Linked DNA regions of Homo sapiens: regions 2, 3, 4, 5, 6 and 7 are each linked to region 1. The links are contacts of gene promoters, found by promoter capture Hi-C in blood cells and fetal thymus (Javierre and others, 2016). All regions are on one chromosome and are shown on one strand. Each heading gives the region's core, a stretch centred on a gene start or on the middle of the fragment in contact. The rest is flanking DNA. Distances are from core to core; before and after follow the strand shown. Region 1 holds the start of TUBE1 (tubulin epsilon 1). Region 2 overlaps HDAC2 (histone deacetylase 2). Region 3 overlaps HDAC2 (histone deacetylase 2). Region 4 overlaps LOC124901382 (a long non-coding RNA gene). Region 5 has its middle 7.9 kb from the start of MARCKS. Region 6 holds the start of CDK19 (cyclin dependent kinase 19). Region 7 holds the start of AMD1 (adenosylmethionine decarboxylase 1).

The links. Contacts are between HindIII fragments. The CHiCAGO score rates a contact against its expected background, and 5 or more counts as called.
Region 2: a contact is called between a fragment that was not itself captured here and the fragment with the promoter of TUBE1 in region 1, in 1 of 17 cell types (total B cells). The highest score is 7.7, in total B cells.
Region 3: a contact is called between a fragment that was not itself captured here and the fragment with the promoter of TUBE1 in region 1, in 5 of 17 cell types (naive B cells, total B cells, naive CD4 T cells and 2 more). The highest score is 12.2, in naive B cells.
Region 4: a contact is called between a fragment that was not itself captured here and the fragment with the promoter of TUBE1 in region 1, in 2 of 17 cell types (total B cells and naive B cells). The highest score is 11.2, in total B cells.
Region 5: a fragment that was not itself captured here is called in contact with the fragment with the promoter of TUBE1 in region 1 in 1 of 17 cell types (total B cells); the score reaches 7.4 in total B cells.
Region 6: the fragment with the promoter of CDK19 here is called in contact with the fragment with the promoter of TUBE1 in region 1 in 6 of 17 cell types (total CD8 T cells, naive CD4 T cells, naive CD8 T cells and 3 more); the score reaches 7.4 in total CD8 T cells.
Region 7: the fragment with the promoter of AMD1 here is called in contact with the fragment with the promoter of TUBE1 in region 1 in 1 of 17 cell types (naive CD4 T cells); the score reaches 6.6 in naive CD4 T cells.

Annotation. Positions count from the first base shown.
Region 1 is chr6:112,085,765-112,089,937 of GRCh38, reverse strand. It overlaps TUBE1 (tubulin epsilon 1), which reads left to right and starts at 2,456. Exons shown (of 12, transcript NM_016262.5): 1 at 2,456-2,528; 2 at 2,632-2,705; 3 at 3,330-3,382. The coding sequence starts at 2,504. It overlaps FAM229B (family with sequence similarity 229 member B), which reads right to left and starts at 2,347. Exons shown (of 4, transcript NM_001033564.3): 1 at 2,218-2,347. RefSeq lists enhancers at 2,287-2,476, 2,211-2,742, 2,877-2,926. The HindIII fragment of the contact is 2,028 bases long and covers 1,827-3,854 here.
Region 2 is chr6:113,955,999-113,960,171 of GRCh38, reverse strand. HDAC2 (histone deacetylase 2) reads left to right here. Exons shown (of 14, transcript NM_001527.4): 2 at 154-266; 3 at 1,406-1,523; 4 at 3,479-3,553; 5 at 4,021-4,159. Among named protein-coding and RNA genes, the nearest start is that of HDAC2-AS2, 12 kb to the left of the region's middle. The HindIII fragment of the contact is 288 bases long and covers 2,088-2,375 here.
Region 3 is chr6:113,937,461-113,941,633 of GRCh38, reverse strand. It overlaps HDAC2 (histone deacetylase 2), which reads left to right. Exons shown (of 14, transcript NM_001527.4): 14 at 546-4,173. The coding sequence ends at 576. Among named protein-coding and RNA genes, the nearest start is that of HDAC2-AS2, 30 kb to the left of the region's middle. The HindIII fragment of the contact is 4,520 bases long and covers 1-4,173 here.
Region 4 is chr6:113,880,801-113,884,973 of GRCh38, reverse strand. It overlaps LOC124901382 (a long non-coding RNA gene), which reads right to left. Exons shown (of 3, transcript XR_007059716.1): 2 at 1-4,173. Among named protein-coding and RNA genes, the nearest start is that of MROCKI, 9.5 kb to the right of the region's middle. The HindIII fragment of the contact is 2,224 bases long and covers 965-3,188 here.
Region 5 is chr6:113,847,396-113,851,568 of GRCh38, reverse strand. No RefSeq gene overlaps it. Among named protein-coding and RNA genes, the nearest start is that of MARCKS, 7.9 kb to the left of the region's middle. The HindIII fragment of the contact is 1,235 bases long and covers 1,762-2,996 here.
Region 6 is chr6:110,813,757-110,817,929 of GRCh38, reverse strand. CDK19 (cyclin dependent kinase 19) reads left to right here and starts at 2,461. Exons shown (of 13, transcript NM_015076.5): 1 at 2,461-2,921. The coding sequence starts at 2,794. It also overlaps a transcript of AMD1 not described here. RefSeq lists enhancers at 2,161-2,240, 2,814-3,366, 3,601-3,710 and a silencer at 2,881-3,190. The HindIII fragment of the contact is 5,084 bases long and covers 1-4,173 here.
Region 7 is chr6:110,872,603-110,876,775 of GRCh38, reverse strand. AMD1 (adenosylmethionine decarboxylase 1) reads right to left here and starts at 1,991. Exons shown (of 9, transcript NM_001634.6): 1 at 1,561-1,991. The coding sequence starts at 1,670. RefSeq lists enhancers at 139-853, 854-1,569 and silencers at 817-1,006, 1,037-1,106, 1,167-1,416. The HindIII fragment of the contact is 4,442 bases long and covers 700-4,173 here.

The DNA.
Region 1 (4,173 bases), core at 1,207-3,706:
TGATTTTTCTATAAATTGTCCTATAGAACATAGTGTGTATCCTTTTAATCTATGTATTTTTCTTCCTTTTTTTTTATCAAGTACATTTTTTCCTCCATTTGCTGTGGGCACATGTTAATCTTATGTTGAGCCATCTTTGTCTCCTTCATACATATTATTTTTAATAACTTTCATATCTCTGGGTTTTGCCTAGTATTGTTATTATTTTAAGACTTTCCTCTACATTATAATTTGATGTGCATCTCTCTAGTCTGCTTCTTAAATGCTTTTAAAAATTATTTCTTTAAGTCCTTTAAGGTGGATGTTGTTGTCTTCAGTTAATTTCCTTAGTTCTTTTATCTCCATTTTATTTCATTTATTCATCAAATATTTATTTACTATCTACTATATGCAAGGTACTATCCCTAGTAGTGGATAAAACAACAAGACTCAGCCCTCATAGAGCTTGAGTCTTATTATTTTAGTATCTTGTCTTTAAGTTCCTGTTTTATTGCATTCATATTCTTAAGTTCTTCTTCAGCACAAAGTAGATATGATGAATTTTCTTTTCTCCCCTCTTAGGCTAGGTTTTACCCCAAGGTCTTGTACTTTATCCATCTTTTACATCGTTCCTTCCTTCCTCTCCCCCTTCCCTCCCTCTCTCCCTTCCATCCTTGTCTTCCTTCCTTCAATTTTAGGAGTCCATAGGATTCCCAATAATTTTTTTCTTTTTCATTTTCAGCATGTGGAATTCTGTTCACTCTATTTGCTCTGTATGTTGGTCAGCTATCACTACAATAAAACTGCACCCCAAAATTTCAGTAATTTCAACCAAAAACATTTCTCTTGCTTATAATATTCTGAATAGCCCGCTGCGGTTCAACCGATCTCAACTTGGCTCACCCGGGTTTGCATATACGGAAGTTTTGGAGTGGCTGGCATGTGAGGCTCTACCTTGCTTGGCTCTTAAGCAGAACTGTCTCTCAGTCTGATTCTCTAGAGACTGAAGTTATTAATAAGATGTGTTAGGACTTTTCTTTCCTGTGTGGGGAATAATGACTGGGACTGCATGAAGGGTAGGGCTCTGCAAAGGCCAGTGTATCATCTCACCTAGCACTGATAACACACTGATACAGACCTATTCACATCACTGCCTACAAACTGGACCAAGACTTGCAAATTTTGGAAGCCCCAGACGTTGGGACTTTAGCATCAAGACCTAAAATGCCCAACTTTACCTCTACCACTGACCCCATACTCAGTAAGAAGTTAAGAATAAATCCAGCCTACAAAAATTTACTGACCGAAAGCTGCCTATTACCAAAAGATATAAAATCCATTGCAACTTTAAACCTACCGGCTACCAGAGAAATTTAATAGTAACTACTACGTGTCTTGGTGGGACAATAAAGTGTTCTAATCCATTGAATATTACAGTTCATATTAGCACATATTCATAGCACATACCATATAACTTTTTATTAAACAAAGAAGACTTCTTAGAGTTTCGTAGTTCTTCAGAATTTTTGTGGAAAATATTAATTTCATTAAAGAAGTACTTGAGTTCTTAATTAAAATCTGGTCTAATTTGATCAATAGAAGTTTACATATTTTAATGTTTGACAATTTTAAGTAGTTGGTAATTGTCATAATGCCTAACTTTTTAATCTTCTCCTGCCTATCCCATCTAAATACCCATCTAAATGCCTAGTGTTAATCTCGTGTCTTCTATCAGACTTCTACATACTCATCTACATCCTCAACCACTGAATCCTATTGCACTTATAGTCAACGCCACACAATTCTTTAAGTATTTCGCGTGTATGTCTTCAATTAGATTGTAAGCTTCTTGGAACTGGATCTATGCCTTAATTTCTTTCTAATCTTCCCAGCGAGCCTACAAGTTAATTTGGGGAGTATACAGCGTTCAACAAATACTGGTTGGGTCTGTGACCTTAGCTTTGCCATTTTTGTCAAAGCGTATAACCATCTAGTTTCAATTGTGCCCTGACATGACTATTTCTCTGGGGTTTCTCTTTGCTCAACGCCATTGTTCATTTTCTATTAGAATAAAGGGCTTGTTGAACAGAGATGCCAACGCAGCGTCCCGTGGAATCTGAATAAACGGACTGATCCACCGCCCCGGGTGTTGAGGCTGTGAACAAAAATTAAACCTCTGATAGCCCACGAACAGCTTAACGACACATATTTTAAAATACCACTCCAAAGCCTAGTTACCTGCCAGTTACCCCGGCCTCCGGAGCTGCCGATGCTCGAAGATGTTGACAAGGCAGCTAGGATATACAGTCCAGAAGCCCAGTCGCTACGGTAACGGTGACACGCAAGTGCACTTGCGCGGCCTTCTGACGGAAAACCTTAGCCTGAACCTACAGACGTGCTTAGCGACGGCAGAGGCTTGCGGCAGTAGCGTGACTTACGGCAGCTCTCTAGCAGAGCGCCGTTGCTGGGGGAATGCAGAAGCGGCCGCGGGCTAGCAAGCTCCCGGAGCCGGCGGCGCACCACCATGACCCAGTCGGTGGTCGTACAGGGTAAGCTACGCCGGGCGGGTAGAGACCTGGTCGCCGCGGAATCCAGCGGCCATGTTTCCTGCTTAATGTCCTATTCTCTTTCCTTCCTCTCCTCCGGTCGCAGTCGGCCAGTGCGGAAACCAGATCGGCTGCTGCTTCTGGGACCTGGCACTAAGGGAGCACGCCGCGGTCAACCAGGTACCCGCCCGCCGCCGCGAGCCCCCTCGCCTGTCAGCTAGGTCTTCCAGCCCATACGCAGGAAATAATCGACTTGAGCTTTCATCTGACCCGTTTAAGATGCATGGGATCTTCCCAGTAAAGAACGTACTGGTTTTTAAACATGTTGCGTCAGACACACACTAAACTAAAAGAACACTGGCCAGCGACCTTAGTCTTAACGTTTTTCCTGATTCTCAGGGTCTCCTCTTTATTGGTGTTCGTGTGCAGAACAGTGAGATTTGTATATGGGAAAGTACTTTGTAAAATAGATAACACGTGTGGTTATTGTATTCCTTAATTTAACCAGTCAGCTTTTAAAAAGATTACGAAGAATCCAGAGAACGCTCATTTGATGGACCTGTCCTACAGTCCTATGGGTGAAATCCTTTCTTTAGCACCCCCTGCTGAACTTTTTATCTGTAGATCTGGCATTTACTCTTCTAAGGAGATTGGGAAGAGTCAGGCTCCGCATTTTGTGATACTTGGTTTTTCTTATCAGAGTCTCATCCTAGCCATTACAGTATTATGTAATTAAAATTGAAAGAACTTGATTTGGGCGAGAAGCAAAACCTAAATGCTATTAACATATGTTTTTCTTTTTAGAAAGGAATTTATGATGAGGCAATAAGCAGCTTCTTTAGAAATGTGGACACCAGGTAAGATGGGATTAAAGTCTGTCACAGTGTGATACTTTAAGTTTCAGTAGCTTGGGAGAGAATTCTTCAAAGGACAATAAAAATAGCCAGCTGCGAAGTTGTGTTTTTTTGTTTCATTATTGAAAGCATATTTATTCTATTAGATTATTAATATTCTTATATCATTTTCCCGAAGAAGACAACAGATTTCCCTTTAGTGTGACTTCTTTTAACTTAACCTTGAAATAAGTTTCATTAAAAGAAAGCTGAAATTTTCCCAGAGGGCATCTTGTTAATGCATCCTGTAATAACTAACTTTTGAAAGAAAAATATATTGTTTACATATATGCTGTAAGTATAAAAATATACTTAAAAAGGTGACAAGCAGTTGTTGGATTGTTTTTGTTTATTTAATAAAGAGTATATGTAAGTACCATATATGTTTTATCTGGAAGAGTAATTTAAGTTGCCGTTTAGGATATCTCCATAAGCTTTTAATATTAAATCATTAAGTTCATGCATTTTCAAAATACTTCATAAAACTAACTGTCCTGTGCTTAAACTGAAAAATACATACTTCGTGTCAGGCTTTAATCCAATAGGAACATCAGTTCTAGTTTAAAATAGTTGGCTGGGTGTGTGAGCAGTTATCTTCAGAGAAAGCTGATTAGTCCGCGCTTCCTGGGTGAATTCCAGAGTCTATCTAGGGCACTGGCTTGCAAACTCAGAAGTGTCATTGGCATCTCGAGATGGGTTCAGTGCTCTCCAGTACAGCCAGGTTAACCAAAGACCAAATTCTCATTTTCATAGGC
Region 2 (4,173 bases), core at 982-3,481, 1.9 Mb before region 1:
GTTTGAAAGTTGCAAAATAAATCTAAGTTGCTAAGGTTTTAAATAAATTTTGTTAAGTAGTAAATGCCTTCTAATGATAGACATACATAAATTCAAATAGTTCATGGAGGGTCTCTTGTCTGTATTGTTTAGTTTGTGTCTTTTCTATTTTAGGTGATATTGGAAATTATTATTATGGACAGGGTCATCCCATGAAGCCTCATAGAATCCGCATGACCCATAACTTGCTGTTAAATTATGGCTTATACAGAAAAATGGAAATATATGTGAGTATTCCTTTTAATACATATTCAGCACTGATCTTTTTTATTTTTTTTTAGCTACTGTGAAACTTTGTCTATTATTCCCCTTTTGAGGGCATTTAGCAGATGAAAAGATCTGGAAGAAAACAAACTTCTTTTTTCGTTTATTCTTAGGAGATGAATAAGAATGAGAGCTATACCCTCTTTTTCCTTTTCCTTTAACCATTTAAAAAAGTTCCCCCTACCCTAGGCTTTCATGGTTCTGGAGAACAACTCAGTATAGCAACAACTCAGTGTAGCATATTAAGTATTTTTTTTTTTTTTTTTTTTTTTACAATAATTGTTAATCTGCCTGTGCTGCTGAAAAGAGTTGACCTGGGACTGTTACAAAATAATAACACATAAAATTAATCCCACAAATATTTGCAGGGCATATAATACATATGGAATACTGTGTTAGTGTGGCCAAGCATAGTACAGATAACACAAGTGCAACAGCTGCCTTAATGTTTTTGTAGATAAAGATGAGGGTATGTATAAACAAATACAGACACGACAATTAGCTATTTGGGGAGAAAAGAAATATTTAAAACAATTAATGCTAGGCAATATATGTGAATATGTGAATTATTTTCAGTTACATGTAGACATTTAGAGAAGAGGGGAAGTTAGAATAAGACTCAGTCTGGAAGTCTTGTGGAAGAATTGTGTCATACGTGAAATTGAGCTCTTCGGAACAAGGAAGATTAGGATAGAAAAAAGGACGAGAGGTCGTGAACAAAGATTTAGAATTGAAAACTCTTGTAGTGAGTGATTTCATTGATGAAATCACTGGATGTTTTATCATGGAAAAGGAGAGAAAGTAGAGTTTATGAACATATGGATTTGACTTTTTACTCGAACTGTTTCCACTAAAATAAGGAGTGATTAAATCATAGTTGATATGCCTGTGTAATGCTTTTAAAGGAGTTTGAATTAGTTTTGAGATTGATTACTGTTTTCTAAAACACATATAAGTTTGGGTTAGTTTTGGAATTTATATATTTTGTTCTGGTAGACTTGGTTCTTTTGAGGGGACCGATAGGGGAATTTGTATATTTGTTTGATAATACTGATATAACCGGTTGTAATTCCACAGTTCTGACATTTATTTCTCTTCACAGAGGCCCCATAAAGCCACTGCCGAAGAAATGACAAAATATCACAGTGATGAGTATATCAAATTTCTACGGTCAATAAGACCAGATAACATGTCTGAGTATAGTAAGCAGATGCAGAGATGTACGTTTCTAAGTAAAAAGTAGTTTTGCTTTGATAAATGTAAATTAGTATTTTTAGGAGCTTAGAATGATCTAAATCTGAATATTTTTCCTGTTGGTCTAATATGTTACAGTTATTTACTGATTTGAAAAGTCATTTTAACACTACTAAAGCTACTTAAGAAAAAAGTAAACCTATCTGAAGCTTATTGGTTTGCAAAACTGCTGTTTGGGTATTCTTCTACTCCTAGTTTGCTCCCCTGATAACTTTGGGTTAATACATATTGGTAGGGAGACCTCACTCCCTTACTCCCTCGCTTCAAAAAAACAAAAACAAGATTACACTTTGATTAGCCTTAGCTTGGCATGTACATATCTCTTGTCTTGTCTTTGTGTACTTCAGTTAACCTGGACTATAATACACATCTCTTTTTCTTTGTTAAGATATTAGTGAAGCTTTTGATTCTACGTAATGTTCTCTTGTACAGGTTAAAAGTATTTTATTTTTAGAGATTAGTAACAAATTGGCTTGAAGGTAGAATGCAAAAGTCAACCTAAAATTATTGGAACAGTATCTTTTAAAGCTTGATACCAAAGTTCATTCTCATTAGTGTTTGTATTGACTGACTTCAGTGATGATTATACTAAATTAGTGTAGGTGCTAGACATCTCATATTTACAACCTCATACACATTTCTGCCATATCTTGTTTGATTTGTTATAATGCTACAATGTAACTAGAACATGTAGTATTTAATTTTTTTTTTTTCAATGAAGATTCCAACTTAGATGCAAAAGAGGCATGAGTAGCCCTTGGGCAAACAACATAACAGGATTGATTTAAAACCCACATAATAATGAGTTCTATTAAGCTTATGATCCTGGCCAGGTGTGGTGGCTCACGCCTGTAATCCCAGCACTTTGGGAGGCGGAGGTGAGTGGATTACCTGAGGTCAGGAGTTCGAAACCAGCCTGGCCAACATGGCAAAACCCTGTCTCTATTAAAAAAGTACAGAAAATTAGCTGGGTGTGGTGGTGCGCGCCTGTAATCCCACTACTCTGTAGGCTGAGACAGGAGAATTGCTTGCTTGAGCCCCAGAGGTGGAGGTTGCAGTGAGCCAAGCTCACGCCATTGCACTCCAGCCTGGGCGACAGAGTGAGACTCTGTCTCCAAAAAAAAAAAAAGATTATGATCTCTCTGTGCAGTAAGAAACTAAAATTCATTTCTTATAGTGCTTGTGACTTAAGGGTATACAAAGATATTAATATACAAAACAAGGACCCTTATTCTTGAAGAGGTTACAATTCAAGGGCATAGGGAAAGACTAAGAAAGGGTTACATACATCTGCCATATCCTTTCATTCTCTCAGTGCTAAGGAACTAAATGTGTGATCGTTTATCTGTAAATGTTTTCCTTGTTGTCTTTAGTATCCTATGTTTTGGCTCCCATGAACCTAGTTAATTCTTAGCAACTTTCAAGATCAAGATTAGCCATGGGAATAGGCAACCAGCTGTTACATCTTTTTGGTTTAGTAACTTACTGACATGCATTTCAAAGTTACAGATATTATAGGTATTTAAGGAGTTTCAAAGAAAGTAAATTATAAAGCAATTGAAGTTGCTTTTAGAATGTTAACTTATTGTAATATTAAGGGGAAAGGCCTAGAAAATTTAAGCCTGTGTTTTAATTAAATAAGAATTGTTGTACTTAGACAACTATTGAGTTCTTGTTAATAGACAGAAATATTCCACAGATAATCCTGATAAGATTTGATGATCTTTCACAGATAACACTTTAATTACCTTGGATAAAACAATAAATATATTTTAAAGTTGGAAACTTTATATTATACTGTGAAGTGTATGTTTGATGATTGCATCAAGCAAAAAAGTATTTGTGGGAAATAGTTTTTGTAAGAAAAGGCTTTCATTAATTTGCAGAATGTGTTGAAATTAATGAAATCCATCTTCCACAGTTAATGTTGGAGAAGATTGTCCAGTGTTTGATGGACTCTTTGAGTTTTGTCAGCTCTCAACTGGCGGTTCAGTTGGTAAGTGCTAATGCAATCAGATTTAAAAGTTGATCTGAACTTGGTGTGTTATCTTTCGGGTTATTTGTGTAAAACAGAAGTTTTAATGATTGTGAATTTTGATAACAAAAGGAAATCAGTATGTTTATAGTAAAGTACAATTTACTTTCAAACCTCTATGTTTTATGATTATGACTTAAACGCTTTTTAAACTTATTTTCACTTGGAGACTTCATTCATTCCCTTTGTCTTCTAGGTATCATTGTTACTACCACTTTCCACATAAACCATTATTTAATCTCAGGTTGCAGCTCTAGGAGAATATTTTTCTAAGGAGTAACTCCTATTTGTGTTATAGATGATTTCTGTTAACTTTCATGATTTTAAGCTCTTGCTTATGCATGGCATACACTTGTAGTGTTTTTGTCTCATTCTACTACTTTTTTATGATAAATGTTTAAAAGGTCTATCTTGTTTCTACTTCTTAGCTGGAGCTGTGAAGTTAAACCGACAACAGACTGATATGGCTGTTAATTGGGCTGGAGGATTACATCATGCTAAGAAATCAGAAGCATCAGGATTCTGTTACGTTAATGATATTGTGCTTGCCATCCTTGAATTACTAAAGTATGTTAATTTAT
Region 3 (4,173 bases), core at 745-3,244, 1.9 Mb before region 1:
GTACACACTTCAGAAATACTAGACTGAACCTTAGAACATCATTATGAGGTGCTCTGAATTTTAGTTTGTATTGGTACATAAGACAACATATGCCATCTTACCTATTGGTTTATCAGTATAACTATATCAGTCAGTTTGTATTCTTGTACGTAGTTTATCTGAGACCCTTTTTTGCTGTTATCTTTTATATATGCACTTAATGGTTTTCATGGTGTTCTTATTTCTGTGTACATGATTTTTTTAGTGTTGTGAGATAGGTAAATTTAAGAAACAATTTTAAGTAAAAACAGTTGAGGATTTTAGTGTCAGAAAGCATGTAAATGTTTGGGCACACATAATTTTGTGCCAGCCTTTACAGGATAACTTGGAATAGTTTATTAAATCACTAGAAAAATTAAGGCATTAATTACTCCAGAAACACTTAAGACATTATCAATTAATGTGTTTCTTAGCATGAGCCTACAGGACCTGATCAATATAATAGGTCAGTGCATTTAAACCAAGATTGTGCCATTTTTAATATTTCACATTGCCTCTTTTAACAGAACCAAATCAGAACAGCTCAGCAACCCCTGAATTTGACAGTCTCACCAATTTCAGAAAATCATTAAAAAGAAAATATTGAAAGGAAAATGTTTTCTTTTTGAAGACTTCTGGCTTCATTTTATACTACTTTGGCATGGACTGTATTTATTTTCAAATGGCTTTTTCGTTTTTGTTTTTCTTGGCAAGTTTTATTGTGAGTTTTTCTAATTATGAAGCAAAATTTCTTTTCTCCACCATGCTTTATGTGATAGTATTTAAAATTGATGTGAGTTATTATGTCAAAAAAACTGATCTATTAAAGAAGTAATTGGCCTTTCTGAGCTGATTTTTCCATCTTTTGTAATTATCTTTATTAAAAAATTGTACTTGGATTATCTTTTGTCTGTTTATTACTACAATATGAAGTCTTGTTTCAGTGGCTAATGACATCATTTCTGTAGACTTACAATACACTCTAGGTGAAAGATAATGATTACAGCTTGAAAGATAACTATTTGCTGTTTCTTTGGGAAGAGTATTTATAGTAATTATTACTTATCTTTGCAATAGAAATTCTACCACCTTGCCCTCTATAGCTTAGCCAGTTAGTATCAGTGAAGATTAACATCCCATTACAATTTATGAAATAATACAGACTCTGCAATTGAGATGTAGGAGTTCTTTGAGTTGACCCAAAGATTCTCAAAATTGAAATGGAAATTCTGAATTGAAAGAAGAAACTGACCAGAACTTGTATTGACCAGACTTGCCTATAGTATATTGCTGGTTTAAAATGGAACCTGCAGACAAAACCTGTTTCTTTTACTGCATTTACATGGCATCCAGGTTCCATTATTATTTACGTGACATCCAGGTTTCTAACTCAAGGAAATAAACACAACTGATTTATCATTCAGCAACTACTTATTGTGTGTCTGCCCATTTTAAGACTGTAGGAGTGTAACTGAATATAATGGAAAAATGCTTTCACTCAGAGCTTACACTCAGAGCTTACATTCTAGTAGCAGGAAGCAGACAAATGGGGGTAACTCCTGCTACTAAGATGTGCAAAGAAGACAAAACATTTTAGGAACTTGCCAAAATCAGTGAAATCTCCCTTTTTGTCAGGCCCACATTGATTCTTTTGAGATTAAAAATTACAGAATGCCAGAAGATAATTCAGTCAAAAGTATTTCTCTTCAGTGCAGTAAAATATTAAAAGAAAAAATATTTCTCTACAAGCCTCTTAAATGTTTCAGACATTCACAATAGCACCTAGACTTTTGTAATGAACAGCTGTGCACCCACCCCGACTTAACAAATATTTTACTTTTGCTATATTTGCTTCGGTGTTTTTTTCTTAAAATACACCGAAATTGAAGCTCTCTTTGTGTACTTTGTCGTTTGTAATCCTCCCTCCCTCCCAGCCTTAAGAAGTAATCACCATTGTGATTATTTTATCCATGTTTTTGTGAATATTTTACCCATGTTTTTGTACTTTTGCTACATATTTGTTATCAATCTGTAAACCTTTATGACATTAGGAACTAAGAAACTTAGTCCCTTCGTTAGGGGGATAATGAAATGTATTTAGTGTTTGTGAAACATAGATGGTATGTATTTGGACAATTCTGTAACTTTGCTTTTTTTATTTTTATTTTTCCATAGCTTATTGGGGAACAGGTGGTGTTTGGTTACATGATTAAGTTCTTTAGTGGTGATTTGTGGGATTTTGGTGGACCCATCACCCAAGCAGTGTACACTGCACCCTATTTGTAATCTTTTATCCCTCGCCCCCCTCCCACCATGCCTCCCGTCTACCATGATGATCCTGTTTTAAATAAGAAAATACCATTTCGCAGGCTCCAGATGTTCTGGCATCCTCCCTGTGGATTTCCCAGTGCCTGCAGCTCACAGGACAACAGGGGCTGTGGTAGAGTCACCTATGAGATCCTGGAGTAGTGGATGGAGGAGATGGAACAGTGAAGACGGAAACTGAGCTCAGTATCCGGGTGCCAGGAGACAAAGGCCCTTTGCTTTTTTTCATTTAATATTCTGATCTACCCCTGTTGACACATGTTAAGTATAGTTCATTTTGACTGCTATGTATTATGTTCCATTGTGTGAACATACTGAAATTGTACACTTCAATACTATACTGGATCTCCTTGGGTGTATTTAAGAGGTTTTGTTTTTCTAAGTAGTTGGTTATATACAACTAAAACCTCAAGAGAACTATCTAAAGCAATTTCAGCAAGGTGATTTGGTACAGCATTAATAAACAGAAATCAGTAACACTTAGTGACCAAGTCTGTTGGAAGAACAAAGACCCCCATTTGTAATAACAAAATTTTTAGAAATAATATGTAAAGAAGCTATGGTTCTTGTGTCTAGTAAGGTCAATGTAACATAGTAAGATGTCAGAATACCCTAATACTTTAAAAAATTCATATAGGATAAAAATGATATTTGAAATTGGCAAGGAAAGACATTATTTTGTAAGTGGAATTGGGACAACAACTGGTAACCAAATGGAAAACCCAGTTTTCTGCCCTCCACTAGAAGATTTAAATAGGAAAAGATAAAACTACCAAAAACCTAAACTCTTAAAGCAAATGGATTGAAGAAGGCCTAAGTGTGACACCAAACTCAACTATAAAAGATATATTTGATAACAAAAAAAAAATTAGTTCAGTGGACCAACAAAAACTTAGAAGACAAGTCAAGAAAAATGACAAAAGACAGAGTGGGAGGCAGATTTGTAACTCATCCAGGTCAAAAGGCTCATATCTAAAGATAGTAGAGGAACAAAATGTATAAGGATGTGAACTGGGAAACAAATACATATAAATAGTTTGTAAATATGAAAAGATCTTTAACCTCAGTAAATAAAAAGCTATAGAGAGACTTATTTTTTAACTTAGTTTTTTAAACCTATTATGTTTATTTATTTTTTCTTTTTTTGAGACGGAGTCTCGCTGTTGCCCAGGCTGGTGTGCAATGGCGCAATCTCGGCTCACTGCAACCTCCGCCTCCCAGGTTGAAGCCATTCTCCTGCCTCAGCCTCCTGAGTAGCTGGGATTACAGGCGCCTGTCACCACGCCCAGCTAATTGTTCGCATTTTTAGTAGAGACGGGGTTTCACTATGTTGGCCAGGCTGGCCTCGAACTCCTGACCTCATGATCCACCCACCTTGGCCTTCCAAAGTGCTGGGATTACAGGTGTGAGCTGCCGCACCTGGCTGTTTATCTCTTTTTTTTAGAGAAAGGATCTCGGTCACCCAGGATGGAGTGTGGTAGCCTGATCATATCTCACTACATCTTAGAACTTCTAGGCTTAGGGTATTCTCCCACCTCAGCCTCCCAAGTAGCTGGGACTACAAGTGTGCACCATCACACCTAGCTGATTTTTACATTTTTATTTTGGAGAGATGGTGTCTCCCTGTGTTGCCCAGGCTGGTCACAAACTCCTAGGCTCAAGCGATTCTCCTGACTCAGGCATGAGCCACCGTACCCGGCCTAAACCTATCATGTTACAGACTTAGAAAGCAACTATTGTCAAGTGTTTGAGGAAACTCAGGTCAGGTTTGGTAAACTAAGATATTAACTCAAGTAAAGCTCTTTAATTCATTTAATGAAGGTGCCACAT
Region 4 (4,173 bases), core at 827-3,326, 1.8 Mb before region 1:
CCAAATCTCCAGTAAGAGGAGGGGTGCCATGCAGCAGCTGTGTGTCTCCAAGAATTCAACCTCTCTGAATCTCAGTTTCCTCAACAACCGCAATTACACATTCTGGTGGAAGTTTGTTTTATCTATTAGAAATACTAGATGAAAGTGCTTGGCCCTTTGGCATTGCAATGCGGCAACTGCTGAGTGATGTCAATGCATGAAATTTGAAAGGATGGTGATCGATTCATTACATGTTCCAATAAAAATATTAATGAGTTATTTTTAAAAAGTGCTTGGCATTCTATAGGCACTAATGAGTTATTGTTTCCGCACTTGGAGGTGTTCTCTGCAGTTTTCTCTTCGAGCCCAATCCTTCCTTTCTGTCCTCTCAGATGTGTCTGTTCTTCTTCTCAGTCTAATATAAGCTTTTCCTCAGTTTCTTTGGGTTACCACAGCAGCAGGTCCTTTCTCTCTGATTCTAAAGATCTTTGCCTAGGTCTGTGCATGCATGAGCTGATCACTGTCTTTCTCAGTTAGTTGTTGGCAATGCCAGGGCAGGAACCAGGGCTCCTTGACTATGGGTGTGCGGCTTTTCCTTCATGACACCATATGGCCTCTGAGAGCTGGCATTTGATTTTCATTTAATTGAAATTCTCGTAGAAGATCATCAACAATACTATTAGCAGGAACCAGCTTTTTAAATGGTCAGAATAATCCTTGTCTGTTTTTGGAGATGTTGTCTTGCTCCTAGAACAGCTGTGAGTGTGTGAACTCATCAGTGATGTGGACACTGCCCAAATAGTAATCAGCAAAGAAATCTTATAAAATTACCAACAGATTACTGCTTCAGCCTGCCAGCACTTTCAGTGCCAGCCAGCCTGTTTTTGTTTTTCTTTGTTTGTTTTCCACTGCAATAGGTTGCAATTTAGAGTAAGTCTTTGTGGACTATGAATGAAAATAGAGTTTCACACTCAATTGATAAGCTTTGACAAATGAAAAAACACATACATGGTATATTTGGGACAATAAACAGGAACCTAGAAAACTAGGGATTCATCTCTCCCTTTCCTTTACCTTAATAATATGAGACAAATGTAATAAAACTCTGTCCTACCCCCATCATAATGCTGTACATGTAAGGAATGCCAAAGAAGTATATGATATTTCTTGCCCTTCATGGTGGATAAATGTCAGAAATTGTATCACAATGACCATGGTACAAATAATTCACCAGGACAGAAAAGAAAAAGAGGTTAAAAGTTTCTATTTGCATATATTTCAATGCATTTTGAAGTCCAAAGGATACAAGTTACATAACATATAAGTTAGATGCATTTCCGCAAATGCAAAAATAAATATCTTAGTGCTACCTCTGCTTGCTGTTGCTCACATTCTCAATTTTCCCCAGTGTCTCCTTCAGCTATCGCTCAATGACTTCTCTAAGTTACATTTTATAGATTCCTCAAAGAATCGTTGCTTCTGTGAGGTTACCTAAACCAGGATCCCATAAAATTAAGACAATGAGACAGGAACTGCTGAGAGCACCGCAGGTGGCAGAGCAGCTCTCAAATCACCAGAGGTTGATGCCACCAAATGGCTCCAGGCCTGAGCTTCTTCCACGTGCTCCTACCTACTTTCTACCTCAAGGGAACTGTTCATTTTTTAAAAAAACAGGTTTACTGCTATTGCTATCCAAACAGCTATGCACTATTTTTTCTACTCTATTCTATGTCCTTCCTCTGGATGCATTTTGAAATTCTGTTTTGAAAGCATTTAGATATTTGGAGAGCATAAAGTTTTTAAGATTTAAATCAGTTTTGTCTTCACTAGTGATTATTTCCTTTTATTTTTAATTGACATAATAATTGTACATACTTATGGGGTACCATGTGATATTTTGACACACCTACACACTGTGTAGGGATCGAATCAGGGTAAATAGCAAATTCATCACCTCAAAACTTTATTTCTTTGTGTTGGGAGCATTCAAAATCCACTCTTGTAGGTTTTGAATATAAATTATTCACAAAAATTGAAAGTAAATTTTTGTTAGTTATAGTCATTCTATAGTGCCATAGAACACTAAGATTTATTCCTCCTATCTAGCAGTAACTTAGTATTTGCTAATCAACCTCTGGCTAGCTCCCTACCACCCCACCCCTAACACACACAACTTTCCCAGCCTCTAGGAGCCACTATTCTACTCTCTACTTCCATGAGGTCAACTTTTTTGCCTTCCATAAATGAGTGAGAACATGCAGTATTTGTCTCTCTATGCCTGGATTATTTCACTTAATATAATATCCTCCAAGGTTCTCATTTTAACCAGACAACATGTCCTGGTATAGAATGTGAATTTAGATTTAGCAGGTCAACTTTTATTTCAACACTGTGGAGTTTGGAAAGCACCCAAGAAGTCAACAAGAAATCAAACATTTTAAGAAGCCTGGGGCAAGTGCATTTAAGTCCATTTTCCCATCTATCACCAGGGCACTGGGCGAGGCCACACAGGCTCTGTCCTGCACAACTTCAAGGAACATGCAAAGAGGCAGCCTGTGTATAACATGACGAAGGATGGACAAATTAACTGATCTTCAAATCCCTTTGAACTGAAATTAAATCATTCTGACAATGGATACTCCAGTATTTCTCTGTATCTTCTTCACATTTGCTTTTTAAAATGTCATTTTTTAACATATATTGTTTTAATAACTGTTCTGGATTAAATTTGGTTTAGAAATAATTTTCAGTTTGTTTGTGTGCTGCTTTATGTAATAAAATGAGATAGTAAATATTTAAAATGTTAATGAGTTTTAAAACATTATAAACCTCAGGAAAATCAAAATCTAGTAACTCATCTGTCAGGCCATAGGCACGGTGATTTAAATTGAGATCACTAACAAATGTAAATGGATTATTAGATGTCAAATACTTTTACTTTCCATTGTAATTCAAATTGAATGTGGGTAAGGCTTAAACATCACCATAAACACTATTTGCTCTAGAGTGAACCTCCTTATAAGAATTACTGGTCTTGGAACTCAACCAAGGGAACTTAGTTACTGAATTGCTATCAGGAGACCCAGGGTGAAGTGATTCTCCCTGTTAAGTGACTCTAATAGTGGTAGAATCCAGCTCTTTTGTTTTAGGCAGTAGTATATTTATGTCAAATCATTATACTTCATATCCAAAAAAGATGCAGGGAAGCTTCCAAGTTTACTAATGCCATCTTGACTGACATTGAGTAAGTTCTCCTTTCTTTGCAATTTTCAGCTCAATAGTATCTTACAGCGCAATGTGCCAGGAAGTCTACCAACTTGAAACTAAGCCTTTCCTGCTATAAATTAAACGTGTTTCCTCCTTGGTACAAACCAAATGCTTAATTATCTCTCTCCTCTTTCACAATCCCTTCATAGAGGCCAGGGCTCTTTGATCTTGCTATTTTTTTCCACCTCTAGAAATGGGCATTATTTTAAAACTTCCACCAGTTTTATGGTTCATCTGGAGTCTACACCAACTTAAAAACTGGGCAGAGTATTCACGTTGATGTCTGAGTGTTTACTATGTGCCAGGATTAATGTTCACAATATCGTGTGATACATATATTATTACCTCATGAATCCTCACAGCAATCTTAAGAGGTAGTTCTGTTATCCTCCTTTTACAGGTGAGGAACTTGAGGCAGAGAGAGGCTAGGTAAATTGCCCAAGGTCACGTTGCGCAAATTCCCCAAAGCAGAATGTGTGCTCATAACCATTGCTCTGCACTCCTTGTCCGTTACTTTAAGCTTGCTGGTTTGGTTACCCAATTCCTAAACACTGATGACCAACATATACTAAATTGCCTCTGGAACATTATTCTGGTAAGTAGTATTATTGAAGTCTAAAAGCAGGTTTACCCATGAAACACATTCAAGTAATCTGAGAATTTATGCTCTAGGCCTGGCGTAGCAGCTCACATCTGTAATCCCAACAATTTGGGAGGCTAAGGCGGGAAGATCACTTGTGCCTAGGAGTTTGAGACCATCTGGGGAACACAGCAACACCTCATCTATACCAGAAAAAACAAAGAAAGCCAGGAATGGGGGTGTGCACCTGTAATCCCAGTTACTTGGCAGGCTGAGGTGGTAGGACTGCTTCAGCTTGGGAGGTCGAGGCTGCAGTTATCCACGATCGTGCCACTGCCCTCCAAACT
Region 5 (4,173 bases), core at 1,130-3,629, 1.8 Mb before region 1:
GAACAAGAGGATGGCTATAGATTTGCTGGTGGGAAGATGAGAAAGTTTCCCTCTGATGGTTTCTATTCAGCTAAGAGGAAAGAAGAAAAGGGAGAGTTGCAGTTTGATGACCTTATAGAAGGTGTGGAATAATGACTGGGAGGCATAGGATTGAGACTTTTGGGCATGGTAAGACTTTAGAGCAGTAATGAGGGCCCATTTGAGGTTGATAAATCTCAAGGATGCTTAATCAATATATCAAATATATCTTTCTACATCCTCTTTAATATTACCAGCCATTCACTCTTTTAACCTATGCCCAATTTTGTTATATCTATAAGTCAATATTTGCACAAAAATAGAATATAGATTAAAAGACAGTGCTATTACAAAGCACAATGTCAGTTAATCCTATATTATTTCATACAGATATACATAAAGAGGAGGAGGGAGGGAAGATAACCTACTCTGTACCAGGGACAGCACTGTGTGAGTCCGCTAGGCTTGTGTTTCACCCTTCCAACAGAACCTGAACTTGTATCATTTTCCCATTTTACAGATTTGGAAATTGATGCTCAGGAAGGTTTGGAAAATAAAGTTCAATAGTGTGTTAGCCGTTGTTCATTGAAGTCTATCTGCCATCTAGGAATCCAATAAGAGCTCAAATGGTTGTAATAGGCACAGAACCTTATATGTAGTTGGAGTTTTTTTTTTAAATTAAAAAATAGAGACAGGGTCTCACTATGTTGCCCAGACTGGTCCCGAACTCCTGGGATCAAGTGATTCTCCCACCTTAACCTCTCAAAATGCTGGGATTACAGACATGAGCCACTGCCCCCAGCCTGTAGTAGGAGCTTTATTAGTTTTTAAAATTGATACTAAAACTGCAAGCTTCTTTACTTTTAGACTTTGCTTTAGTGCTCTTTATTAACTATCCAGTAGTACTCAAATAGAAAGATTCTTTCATAATTAGGAAACATCAGAGTCACTGCTTATCTGTCTGAAGAATCAAGAACTAACACATCTACAACAGGAGTGATGTTTCTGGCATGTTAGATCTCCACATGGTCGGAATAGGTGATCACTACAAAACCACTATAAAGAAGAGTGTATTTTTTGGTTATTGCTATTCAGGCACACCAATTGAAATAACCATACATATATATATATACACACACACACATGCACATGTATATACATATATGTATACACACACATATATACATATATACACACATACACATATATATATACATATACACACATACACATATATATATACATATACAAACACACACACACACTCAGATATATATATATTCTTTTTTTTTTTGAGACAGGGTCTTGCTCTGTTGCCCAGGCTGATCTAACTCCTGGGCCCAAATGATCCTCTCACCCCCTCCCCAGCCTCCCCAGTAGCTGGAACTATAGGCATATACCACCATGTCTGGCTAATTTTTGTATTTGTTGTAGAAACAGGGTCTCCCTATGTTACCCAGACTGGTCTCTAACTCCTGGGCTCAAGCAAATCTTTCATCTCAGCTTCCCAAAGTGCTGGGATTACAGATGTGAGCCATTATGCCTGGCCAAGATTTTTTAATATTTGAAAGAGTAATCAAAAAGTAGGACTTAATATTAGAGACAAATAAACAAAAAGTAGGAAAATCTTTAAAGAAAAAGTTTTCTCCAGAAATTTTGAATCAAAGCTTAACCATAGTAGCATTTCTCAAAATTTGCAATATTTATCCTCCAGGGACAGGCTGAAAACTTTCCATATAAGCTTTTGGAAGAATGGAATGAAGGTGGAAGATTGGGGAGGGCACGGGGATAATTCCCTTTCCAACTTTGTTCTCAGAGATAAGAGGCAAGTAAATAAAGAAAAGCAATCAAAGTTTTCATTAAAAGGATCAGGCGATCAGGTTCCTGGTCTTATAGAGTTACCTAGTCACTTTTCTCATTGTTCTTAACTGGCGGACCAGAAGTGGAGGTAAAACATTCACATAGAAAAAGTTGAATCTTCAGCATGATGAGTATAGGGACCATACAAGGGGCAATTTTTCATTGCTTCCTTAGTCATAAATACTTTCTGATATTAAAAAGGAGACTTAAACAGTGGCTGAAATGAGCTATTTGAACTAATCTATGGTTCTAGAAATTAAAGCATAAAATCAAACACTTATCTTTATTCCAAATAACAATGCACTTTTAGAAAAAGATGTATTAAACTCTTAGAAATAACTTGTTGCAATCAATAAATAGAAAGTTTTTATTAAGCTACTGCTAAAGTAGAACTTTAGTAAGGGCCCCTCCAGTCTGACGGACTTTTCAGTGCCTTCAACACTCTATTAGGTTTTGTGATGAGATGACTGGGAAGGATTTCATTTGCTCAGCAGATATTTATTAAGTACCTACTTTATACCAGGCACTGGCATACAGTGATTTGCCTCCATTACATATTTGAATCCCTACAGTAATCTTATAAAATAGAAACCATTACTCCCATTTTCTTTGTAAATCAAATCCCTGAGGCATAACATAACATGCTCAAGTTTATGCTGCTCATGAGAGTGGTCTGGACTGGGTTCTCAGTCCAGCTCTTGATAATTCCAAAGCTGTGACGCTGTTTCCCTGACTATATCATACTGCCTCAGATAAAGTTAAGAATTTTATGGGATGTTTCTAGTTTTTGTGAAGGTTACAAAAATGATCAAGATACACTAAAAATTGTCTGAAATATATTAAATATTAAACTTTATCTGTTGTAAGAGAAGTATTTAGGGCTACATCTGCAAGGTGGGAATTAGCATTCAAAGAAACACACACACACACAAACAGAATCTGACAGGTCAGATTCTTGAATCTGGAAACATCCTTAGTAACTTTATCCAGAATATTGTCATCACAAAACATATTTTTGGACAACTGAATAAAAACATAAATGGTTAAGTTGTGCCAAAAACTTACCTCTACCTTTCCTGGGGCAAAAGTGTGAGTGTTGCTTAGAGCAGAGTGAAGCTTTTTGGAATGTAGGTAAAGTAGGGTGTAGAGAAAGGGAGAGAATGTTACAGTTGGAAAGAGAATCCAGATGTGAGATGTGGCTGAGAGATGAGATCAGAGATAAGAAGGTACAGCCCTTCACAGTGCCACTGTGAGAAAACTGTAAGGATTCCTGGGATGGAGGGGACTCATGGCTGAGAATGTAGGGAGTGATGAAAATGTGACATTCTTCCATTAAGGCTACAGTTGGAATTTGATTTACATTTTGATTGTAGGTGTAAATACTTGACAGTTTTAAAATTTCAATCACTATTGTATATATTATTTCATTTAATAGCCACAGTAAATTCAGAGATCAATTAGATCAATTAGGTGAATTCCCAGTTATAAGGCTGTTAAATAATTTGCTTAAAATCCCAACTACAGGCCGGGCTCGGTGACTCACGCCTGTAGTCCCAGCACTTTGGGAGGCCGAGGCAGGCAGATCATGAGGTAAGGAGTTTGAGACCAGCCTGACCAACATGGTGAAACTCTGTCTGTACTAAAAATAAAAAAATTAGCCAGGTGTGGTGGCACGCGCCTATAATCCCAGCTATTCAGGAGGCTGAGGCAGGAGAATCGCTTGAACCTCGGAGGCGGAGGTTGCAATGAGCGGAGATCACGCCACTGCGCTCCAGCCTGGGCAACAGAGAGAGACCTCATCTAAAAACAAAAAAATTCCCAATCTCAACTGTAGCTACCCAGACCAGCCAGTATCTTGTGGTCTGCTGGGACAGACAGGGACTTTGTCACTGCCCTATGCTGAGGTCTCTGTCTCTTTTACATGTCTTCCACTCCCCTTCCTCTCCAGTGTGTGTGCGCGTGTGTATTTTTTTTAGATGGCTTTTTGCTATGTTGCCTAGCTGGAGTGCAGTGGCTATTCACAGGCCTAATCATAGCTCGCTGCAGCCTCAAACTCCGGGGCTCAAGCTACTCATCTTCTTGAGTAGCTGAGTCAACAGGCATGCATCACCACACTCATCTCGTCTCCAATATTGAGGAAAAGATACTTAAGGCAAGTTTTCAATTGACTTTGGATTTTTTCTCATTGCTTTAAATATTGCTTTTATGCCAATGACACAACAATCAGAATTTCCTATCCTAATGGCTAACTGAAATTCCAGCTCTGTATTTTCCATTGTCTCCGTACTGATCTGG
Region 6 (4,173 bases), core at 1,212-3,711, 1.3 Mb after region 1:
CGACTTGTCCTTCAAGTAAAGGCTTACTCATGCTTTAAATTTTGGCTCTCACTCAGCAGATGGGGCTGGAGTGAAAAAAAAATTTGGCTCAAACCTACCTACTTCATGAAGTCTACCCTGACTCACTTAGAACCCCGCCTATTCTACCAGTGCTCTTTTAAACCACAGTTTATTTTTAATTTGCTTGCATATTTGTTTTTTCAGGTTTAATTCCCCAATGGAAAAAGACTAATTTTTTTCCTGCTATCTCCAGCAGTTATTATAGTGCATGGCAACAAGAGCAACTGAGATTTTTCTTGATTAAAGATACCATTTTTTTTTGAGTCGGGGTCTTGCTCTGTTGCCCAGGCTGGAGTGCAGTGGCATGGTCTCAGCTCACTGCAACTTCTGCCTCCCGGGTTCAAGGGATTCTCCTGCCTCAGCCTCCCGAGTAAATGGGACTACAGACACATGCTACCACACCTGGCTAATTTTTGCATTTTTAATAAGAGGCAGGGTTTCACTGTCTTGGCCAGGCTGGTCTTGAACTCCAGACCTCGTGATCCACCCGCCTTGGCCTCCCAAAGTGCTGGGATTACAGGTGTGAGCCACTGCACCCAGCCTGAAGAGACTCAAGGTCTAAGGAAGTTTTCCAGGAGTGGGTGATGTAGCAAATAAGGTAAATCATTCCCCCTCCCACTAGTTTTCCAAGTTTCTTTCAAAACCTAGCAGGCAGTTCACTATTCTTTCCTTATCTACCACTTTGGGTAGAATTGACAATTCCCTTCTTTGTCCTCCTAATGAATGTGTTATGTCCTATCCTAGCACCAATCATGTTTAAGTGTGTATCCCAAACATTTGGGACATTAGGCTCACCATTACAGGGGAGGAAACCCTCTTAGGTTCTTCAGCTGGTCTATAAACTAAATTGATACCAGTCAGGTTAACAGGAGAAAAAGTTTTAATTACGTATGTATGCACAAGAGTCCCACAAAATATGAGACTCAAAGAAGGGCCAGATGTTTGACACTTATATTACATCCTGACCTCAAAAAGGAAGTGGGGCCCGGCATGGTGGCACGGACCTGTAATCCCAGCTACTCAGGAGTCTGAGGCAGGAGGATCCTTGAGCTCAGGAGTTGGACGCCAGCCTGGGCAACACAGCAAGGCCAGTCTCTTCAAAACAAAAGTGGGGTTTGGGGCTTCCAGGAGTGGTGGAGACAAGTTAAGAGAGGATAAGAGGAAAAAATGTCTAAGGTGAATAAAGGTTGACTTTTATGCAGATAAAAGTATCTCAGATGATACAAGTTGACTAGCAGCAGCTCTCTTTCTGGTAAGATTCCTTTAATTACGAAAATTTCCTTTAGAAATGTAAATTTCTCTTTACAAAGGAAGAGTTATTCTTTATTTTAGGCAGTAGTGGGATAAGTGAAGCATTTTCCTGTGTTGGCTGGATCTTAATTTATTTTGCTAAAAGACATCAATATGCCAGAGTGGCGTATTTTGGGGTGGCATATTCTGGACTCCTTCAGTTATAATTTGGGGTAGTGTGTCCTGAGCCCCAACACAATGAAATCAATCAACGTTCACCCTAACTAAAGGGGCTTTCTTAAACATTCTAGAACCTCACATCATGCATAGACCATAAAAAATCCTTTACAATTCAACCCAAAGGATCGTAAACGCGGCTTCCTCCAGGCACTTTTAATTGTCCTTAGACAGATGGCCAAAGCCTGGTTATGGGAACCGCATATGCTAAGAGAAAGCTGACTACAGCGCCAAGAAAATGATGATTGGCTGCTGGGGCTCAGAAGTTGCATGTTCTCCTCTGGCCAAGGCAGGCTCTAGGAAACTGCTGAAGGTTCAGTTTTTGAAATACGGTTTTTGCATCGTAAAGAAAAAAGATCAACCTATCAGGAAGAACCGAGCACATCCAATCACCAATCAAGAGCGGGAAAGAAGCCAAAGCCTGGGGATACCCACGCACCAACGAGGACGTCATTCTCCAGCCCCCGCCAATGAGCAGCGGGACGGGGGGCGGGGCAATAGGCGGACCCACTGCCCTAGAAAAGAAACAAGCTGCGGTACAACTGTCCTCACCAGCCCTCGCCTCCCGAGTCACTGCAGCCAACCCTTCAGCAAGGTGCTGATTTAATGCTTTCCATACTCTCTGCGTGGGGCTAGTTACAGTGAAGTATCCCCTTCCCACTAGAGTAAGGCACTTCTTTCCAGTGTCTCCCCGAGAACCGCAGAAAGCACACTGGAACTTCGAGCTTTCTACCTTCACAGGAACCGGGAGCCGTGCGCTACCTGAGGGGGAGGGGCGGCCCTGGTACGCAGGCGCGCATGCTTTGTGGGGGCGAGGCTGTGGTGGCCCGAGGTAACCTGGGAGCTGTATTTCTTACGCCGGCAAAACCGCCCAGGCCGCTGAGGCCTTCGCGACTTCATTTCCCAGGAGCCTCCGCGACCATGGGGCGGGCCAGTGAGTTCGCTAATGAGCTCGAGGAAGCCACGGCGCGGCCCACCAGGTTCCAAAACAAGGAAATGAAGGAGGGAGGCGGGACTGGGGGTGCCTGCGGGAGCCGCCGCCGCCGTCGCGGAGGAGGAGGAGGAAGAGGTGGAGGAGGTGGCTGCTGTGGCCGCCGAGGAGTCCCTTGCTGAAGGCGGACCGCGGAGCGGCGGGCGGCGGGCGGCGCGCGCGCGCGCGCGAGAGGCGGCTGTTGGAGAAGTGGAGCGGCGGTCGCGGGGGGAGGAGGAGGAGGGACTGAGCGGCGGCGGCCCCCGCGTCCCGTGCCTCTATGGGGGAAGCAGACAATGGATTATGATTTCAAGGCGAAGCTGGCGGCGGAGCGGGAGCGGGTGGAGGATTTGTTTGAGTACGAAGGGTGCAAAGTGGGACGCGGCACCTACGGTCACGTCTACAAGGCGAGGCGGAAAGATGGGTAAGAGCAGGGGCGGGAGGAGTAGGCTCGCTCGGGTCCTCGCCCTGCCCGCGACCTGGCGGGATGGGTGGGTCGGATCCCAGTCGGGCCGTGCCCGAGGGGCGAGGCGGAGGGGGTCGCGGGGTTGCGTCCGGACACCGACTCCGAGGGGCGCCCGTTCCGCCCGCCTCCCCCGCGCGGCCCCGTCGCGTACCTCGAACTCCCGCGGCGCAGCCCGGTCCGAGGCGTCGGTCCCGTCCCAGAGGGGCGCCCTCCGAGTGCTCGGAGACGGCGGGGGGACTCGAGTTGGGACCGCGGTGGAGGAGGAGTTTGTGGGGTCTAGTCTCTTGGGGGAACGCAGCGGGCAGGCAGAGCTCCGCTGCGGAGTTGCCGCTCCGGCCCTGGGTAGTGACGGTCGTTGTGGAACTTCCAATCGGCTGAGCGCCTCGCGGGGGCGGCGGTTTGAAACCTCGCCGGGGAGCCTGTCGGGCGAACGCGGCCTGGGGTCCTCGCCAGCCCCACGGCTCTGACCCGCTGGGCACCGCCGCCCCCAGCAGCGATCTCCGCCCTTCGGGCTGGCCGGCCCGTTGGCTTCTCTATGCAGTCCTCCCATCCCTGTTGTATGCCCGGCGTCCCGGGTTTCTCATTCTCACATTCTGAATTGCGTACCTTCCCCCTTCGAAGGAGACCTGATGGGCTAGCTGCGTTTCGCAAGCGGCAACTTAAGAGTTGGCTGAATTCTCTGCTACCCACCCTTTACCTTGCAGCCCCTTGGGTATCTTGGGTATTATGTCCTCCACTCCATCCTCTGCCAGATGACTGTGGGCTGGGGCTTATGGAGTACCTATATTATCAAGAACGGAATACGAAGTGACAGAGCTGGGCCTGAACCTTTGTTTTCCTAGGAGTTGAGGGAGAACTGTAGGAACACCTTGGGAAGCCTTTACTGGTTGTCCTCTTAAGAAGAGCTGGATAATGTACTGAGAATACCTGTCCTTTCTTGGTCCTGGAGGGCAGACAGCAGCTACAGCAGGACTGGTGGAACCAGCTTCCTGGCAGGAATTACCCTCCCCCAAAGCTAGGGACCCAGGAAGATGCCCTGTCCAGCATAGACTTTAAAGAGAGTCAAACTCTACGGAAGAGGATTGTAACGGACCATTTCTGAATAAAGTGATGATCAGCCACAATGACATTAGTAAAATTTGAAGTGCCGCTTATCTTTGTGCGTGCTGTTATAATTTGATGTGGTTGGTATATGAACTCTAGGACTAAA
Region 7 (4,173 bases), core at 742-3,241, 1.2 Mb after region 1:
TTACCAAACGTCTATCACAAATACCATCTTTCTCATCTGTGAAATGAAGGAAATACTAAGCTTCTCCATGACCAAAGTCCGCTTCCTATAATCTCACGTGAGCCTGGCACGTAGTAAGCGCTATAGACATTTTAAGTGTCACACGAAGCTTGAAAAAAATGAGACGTGTGACATTTTAGCTATGACTAGTATTTTTTTCTACAATGGAATCGTTCAAGATACACTGCTAGAAACCGGGTTTCCCGTCGTGCCTTAAAGTCTCGGTAGCACGTGTCTGCCTGGATTCCCTTTTCCAGTTGCTTTTTGTCAAGGGACAGCTCCAAGAACAGCTAACACTCCTAAAACGCCCATTGGTCCACACCCTGGGGCCAGGCTCTGAGTGCGGCCCAGGAGCCCATTGGTCGCCGCCTCTCAATGAAGCTGGCCACGCCAGTTACTCCGCTGCACCGCCACCCTAGCCGCACTCGTGCGCAGAGGAGCCAGGGATCCGGTGGCAGGGCCTAGGAAGGCCATTGGTGGCCACCGGTGCGACCGCCGCCAGGAACAAGGCCTAAGCATCCACGGGATCTCTGGGCTTTTATATAAGCATGGATTTCCACAGCAATACCAACTAAAACGCCTCTTCGGCGCGGTCAGCCCAAGTATCTCTCGCGTGACGGCCCGCAGTGGGAGTGGGCCCCAGATTCCTTTGCTCAAGCTTAAGGCATTAGAGGCATTATGTCCTGGGGCAGGCGGGCCTCCCTCCACCCGCACCTCTCCCGCCCCGCTCCGCCGGCTCCGTAGCAGGTTACACAACCCAAGGTCAAGAGATTGGGGAGCAGCCCCCAGCGGCCTCAGCGGCCGTGTCGAGGGCGGCCCCGGGGACTGCGCCGTCTGCCCAGCCGCCCCGAAAAGGCTCTGGCGCAGAGCATGTTAGGGGAGCGGTGGGGCCCCGCCACTGCGACATAACTGCTCCCGCCCAATCCCCGCCGCCCGAACGCCACATGCTGCCCGCGGCCGCCGCGGGTGGGAGGCCTCTTCGCCAGCCCCTCAGACAAGGCCGGGAGGGCCCCTCCTATCCGCGCCCGAGGCAAGAACAAGCGCCGCTCCCGCCCTCCATTCCCCGAAGCCGGCACGCCCGAATTAGCGCCTGACTAAGCCCGCCGAGCCACACCTGCCGGAGGCAACCCGCGCAGGCGCCCCCGACCCCCACCTGGGGCCCCTGCCGCCAACTACTACGGAGGGAAATGTCGGGAGGCGCGGGCCGCAAAACCACCCCGGGCCGCGCCGCCCGCCGCCCAGCGCGGGACGTTACCTGAGCACGCGGCCGCGCCGGCCTCCTCCCCTCCCCCAGGGCAATGCCAGGCGCGGCAACCACGGCGGGAGAAGCCGGCTCCGGCCCGCGTGGACATGGCCGCTCTCCCCCAAACCGCGCACCTTCCAAGGCCGCCGAAGCGACCCCAGGCCGCAGACTTGCCCCCAACTGAAAGCTGAGGGAACTCGGGCTCCACCCGTGGCTGGTGCCTCGGCGGCGGCGACAGCCCCCAGGCCCGGATGTCAGCGAGCGCCCCGGGGACCCACCTTGGGATAGTGCGAAGATCCCCAGATCCTTGGTTTGCGTCGGGCTGCTGCCGGGAGAACCAAACCTCCAGCAGCTTCTCGGTCCCTTCGAAAAAATGTGCAGCTTCCATCACCGTGAGACTAGCGAACAACCAACAACCACAGAAAATCAACTAAATTAAACCTCTTCTCCCGCCGCTGCCGCCGCCGCTGCGGATTGTTCCAGCTGTGTTACTAAAGTTCAGGTTCCTTTTTTTTTTTGCTATAATTTTATATTAACTTTTTTTAAAAAAAGGACTAATAAAATTTTCCCGGCTTTGTGTGAGCGAAAGTTGAACGTGAGTCTTTTGGAAATAGAGGCAGATACAGTTCAGTCTCTTGTATTCCGCTGCTTTCCCGTTAGAGAGAGTAGAGCGAGCGCTAGCTAATGTCGCCGGCCATACTGTGTAAGCGAGAGCGCTGCGTGAGCACCGCCCTTATATATCCCGGCTCCCCCCAAAAGACCAGGAAGTGACGCATCGTCCCACCTCCACGGCCTATAGCTGCTGCCGCCTGTCAATCACTCGCGGCCGAGTGGCGGCTGGCTGGCCGAGGGCCTGGCGGAGAGCGCGGGGAGCTGCCCACTGCGCTGCGGCTCGGGCTCTGGCCGGCTCCTGAGTGGGAGTTGGTGCTGTGATGTCCAGCTGGGGACTAGAAACCTCGGATCGAACGCAGAGTGGGTGGGGAGAGCGGGAACGGAATGAGGAAAGGCTGTGCAGAGCTGTTTAGAAAAAAAAAATGATTAGCAGAAAACATGGGTGGGTCCTTAGGGGTGTTGGCGGGGTTCAGCGGGGACGGTGGCCAGCGCTGGGTTGGCGTGGTGGTTTTGATCTTGTGCAGTTCACCGCGACTGCTGAGGTACTTGGCCATTCTTAAAAGTGTGTTTTCCCAAGGCGAACGCAGCCAGGCGTTAAAACTAAACATTTGTCCGTGACGCGCACGTTGCCAGGGGTCGAATTAGAAGGCGCTTTAATTCTGCTCACGCCTTGGCTGATGTGCGAATGAAAGCAGTCCTCGGCTGGTTTATACAATAGCCAGAAGCATTGTCTTCCTATTTCAGAAGAGAAAAGCAACGTGGCGCCCAGCCTTGGAGGGCCCCGGCTTTACCCACCTCCCACCGTGTGGCTCGCCATGCCTCCGAATTGGCTGAGCACAGCAGCCTCCGGGAAGCACTGGCAGCTCCGTTGCTCCATTAGCTCAACTGGTGGGAATTTATTCAGCAAAACTACTTCTAGAAACTGAATGTGTTAAATATAATCTGAACTTATTTGATCATGTTTTTCTTTGAATTTTATCAAGCTGATGTATTAATTGATGGAGGTTCTCCTTACCCCCCAAAATTTACAGTGCTATCTTCCCATGTGCTTAAGAAGGATTTACCTGGAAATTAATAAAACAGGGATTCCAGAGCTATCACTGGTGGTAACTTAAATAACTATCAGTCTAATATTTTATAAGTGTTAAGTATAAAATAGTCGTCAAGCCATGGTCAAACAGTTTAACCTCAGATGGCAAAACTGGTAACAAAGTTATTACTTTTACTTGGGAATATGGGAGGAAAAAAACCCAAGCTGACATAAAAATTGCTATTGTCACAAGACAAAAGGACTTTTCGCTATCATCCTTAGAAAAAAACTTTCCCCAAAGTGAAATAAGATGATGTCAACATGAAAAATCCACTGAAAAAGACATGGTTTGGGTTTGCACTCTAGATACCCTGTAGAATAGCTCTTGTCTTACAAGAACGTGGTTCACGTGTCTCCGTGAAACCTGTTGAAAGAAGCTATGTTGTGAGCTAGGTACATAAACTACTCTTGCTTTGTTTTGTTTGTCTGAGACGGAGTCTCGCTCTGTTGCCCAGGCTGGAGTTCAGTGGCGTGATCTCGGCTCACTGCAACCTCTGCCTCCTGGGTTCAAGCGATTCTCCTGCCTTAGCCTCCCGAGTAGCTGGGATTACAGGTGCATGCCAACACACCCGGCCAATTTTTGTATTTTAGTAGAGACGAGGTTTCACCATGTTTGCCAGGCTTGTCTTGAACTCCTGACCTCAGGTGATCTGCCCACTTCGGCCTCCCAAAGTGCTGGGAGGCCACCGCACCCAGCCCTCTTGCCATGTTTTATAAGCATCCAACTCAAACTGCGGATTGGGACAAAAGATAATAAATGTTGCTTATTTTATAATGATAAAAGAATGTGGTTACTCTACTTGGAATAAAGATAAAAGAAGTATTTCTGTGTTTTACAAGCTGTTCAATTATTTGATGGTTCTTACTGAAGAATCTGCCTACTAAACCACCTCAAACACTAATTGTGGTATAAACATAATTTGGCTTATAATTGCTTATAATTAGTTGCTTCTCAACTACTATTATGCTTTTTTCCCAGTGCAATTTAAGTTAATATAAAAGTGCCAAGAATCTTGGCAAAGTAAATCCTTATTAATTTGATATAGGATAATTTAAATAGTCTACCAACTGGATTGGTCCTTTGTAAAATATATCATTTTTCTTGTTATCTTGAAGCTCAAAATTCCTTGTATACTCTGGTTTCTCTTCAGATCATAGAAATAATAAAAATAAAAATCCCTTGTACTAA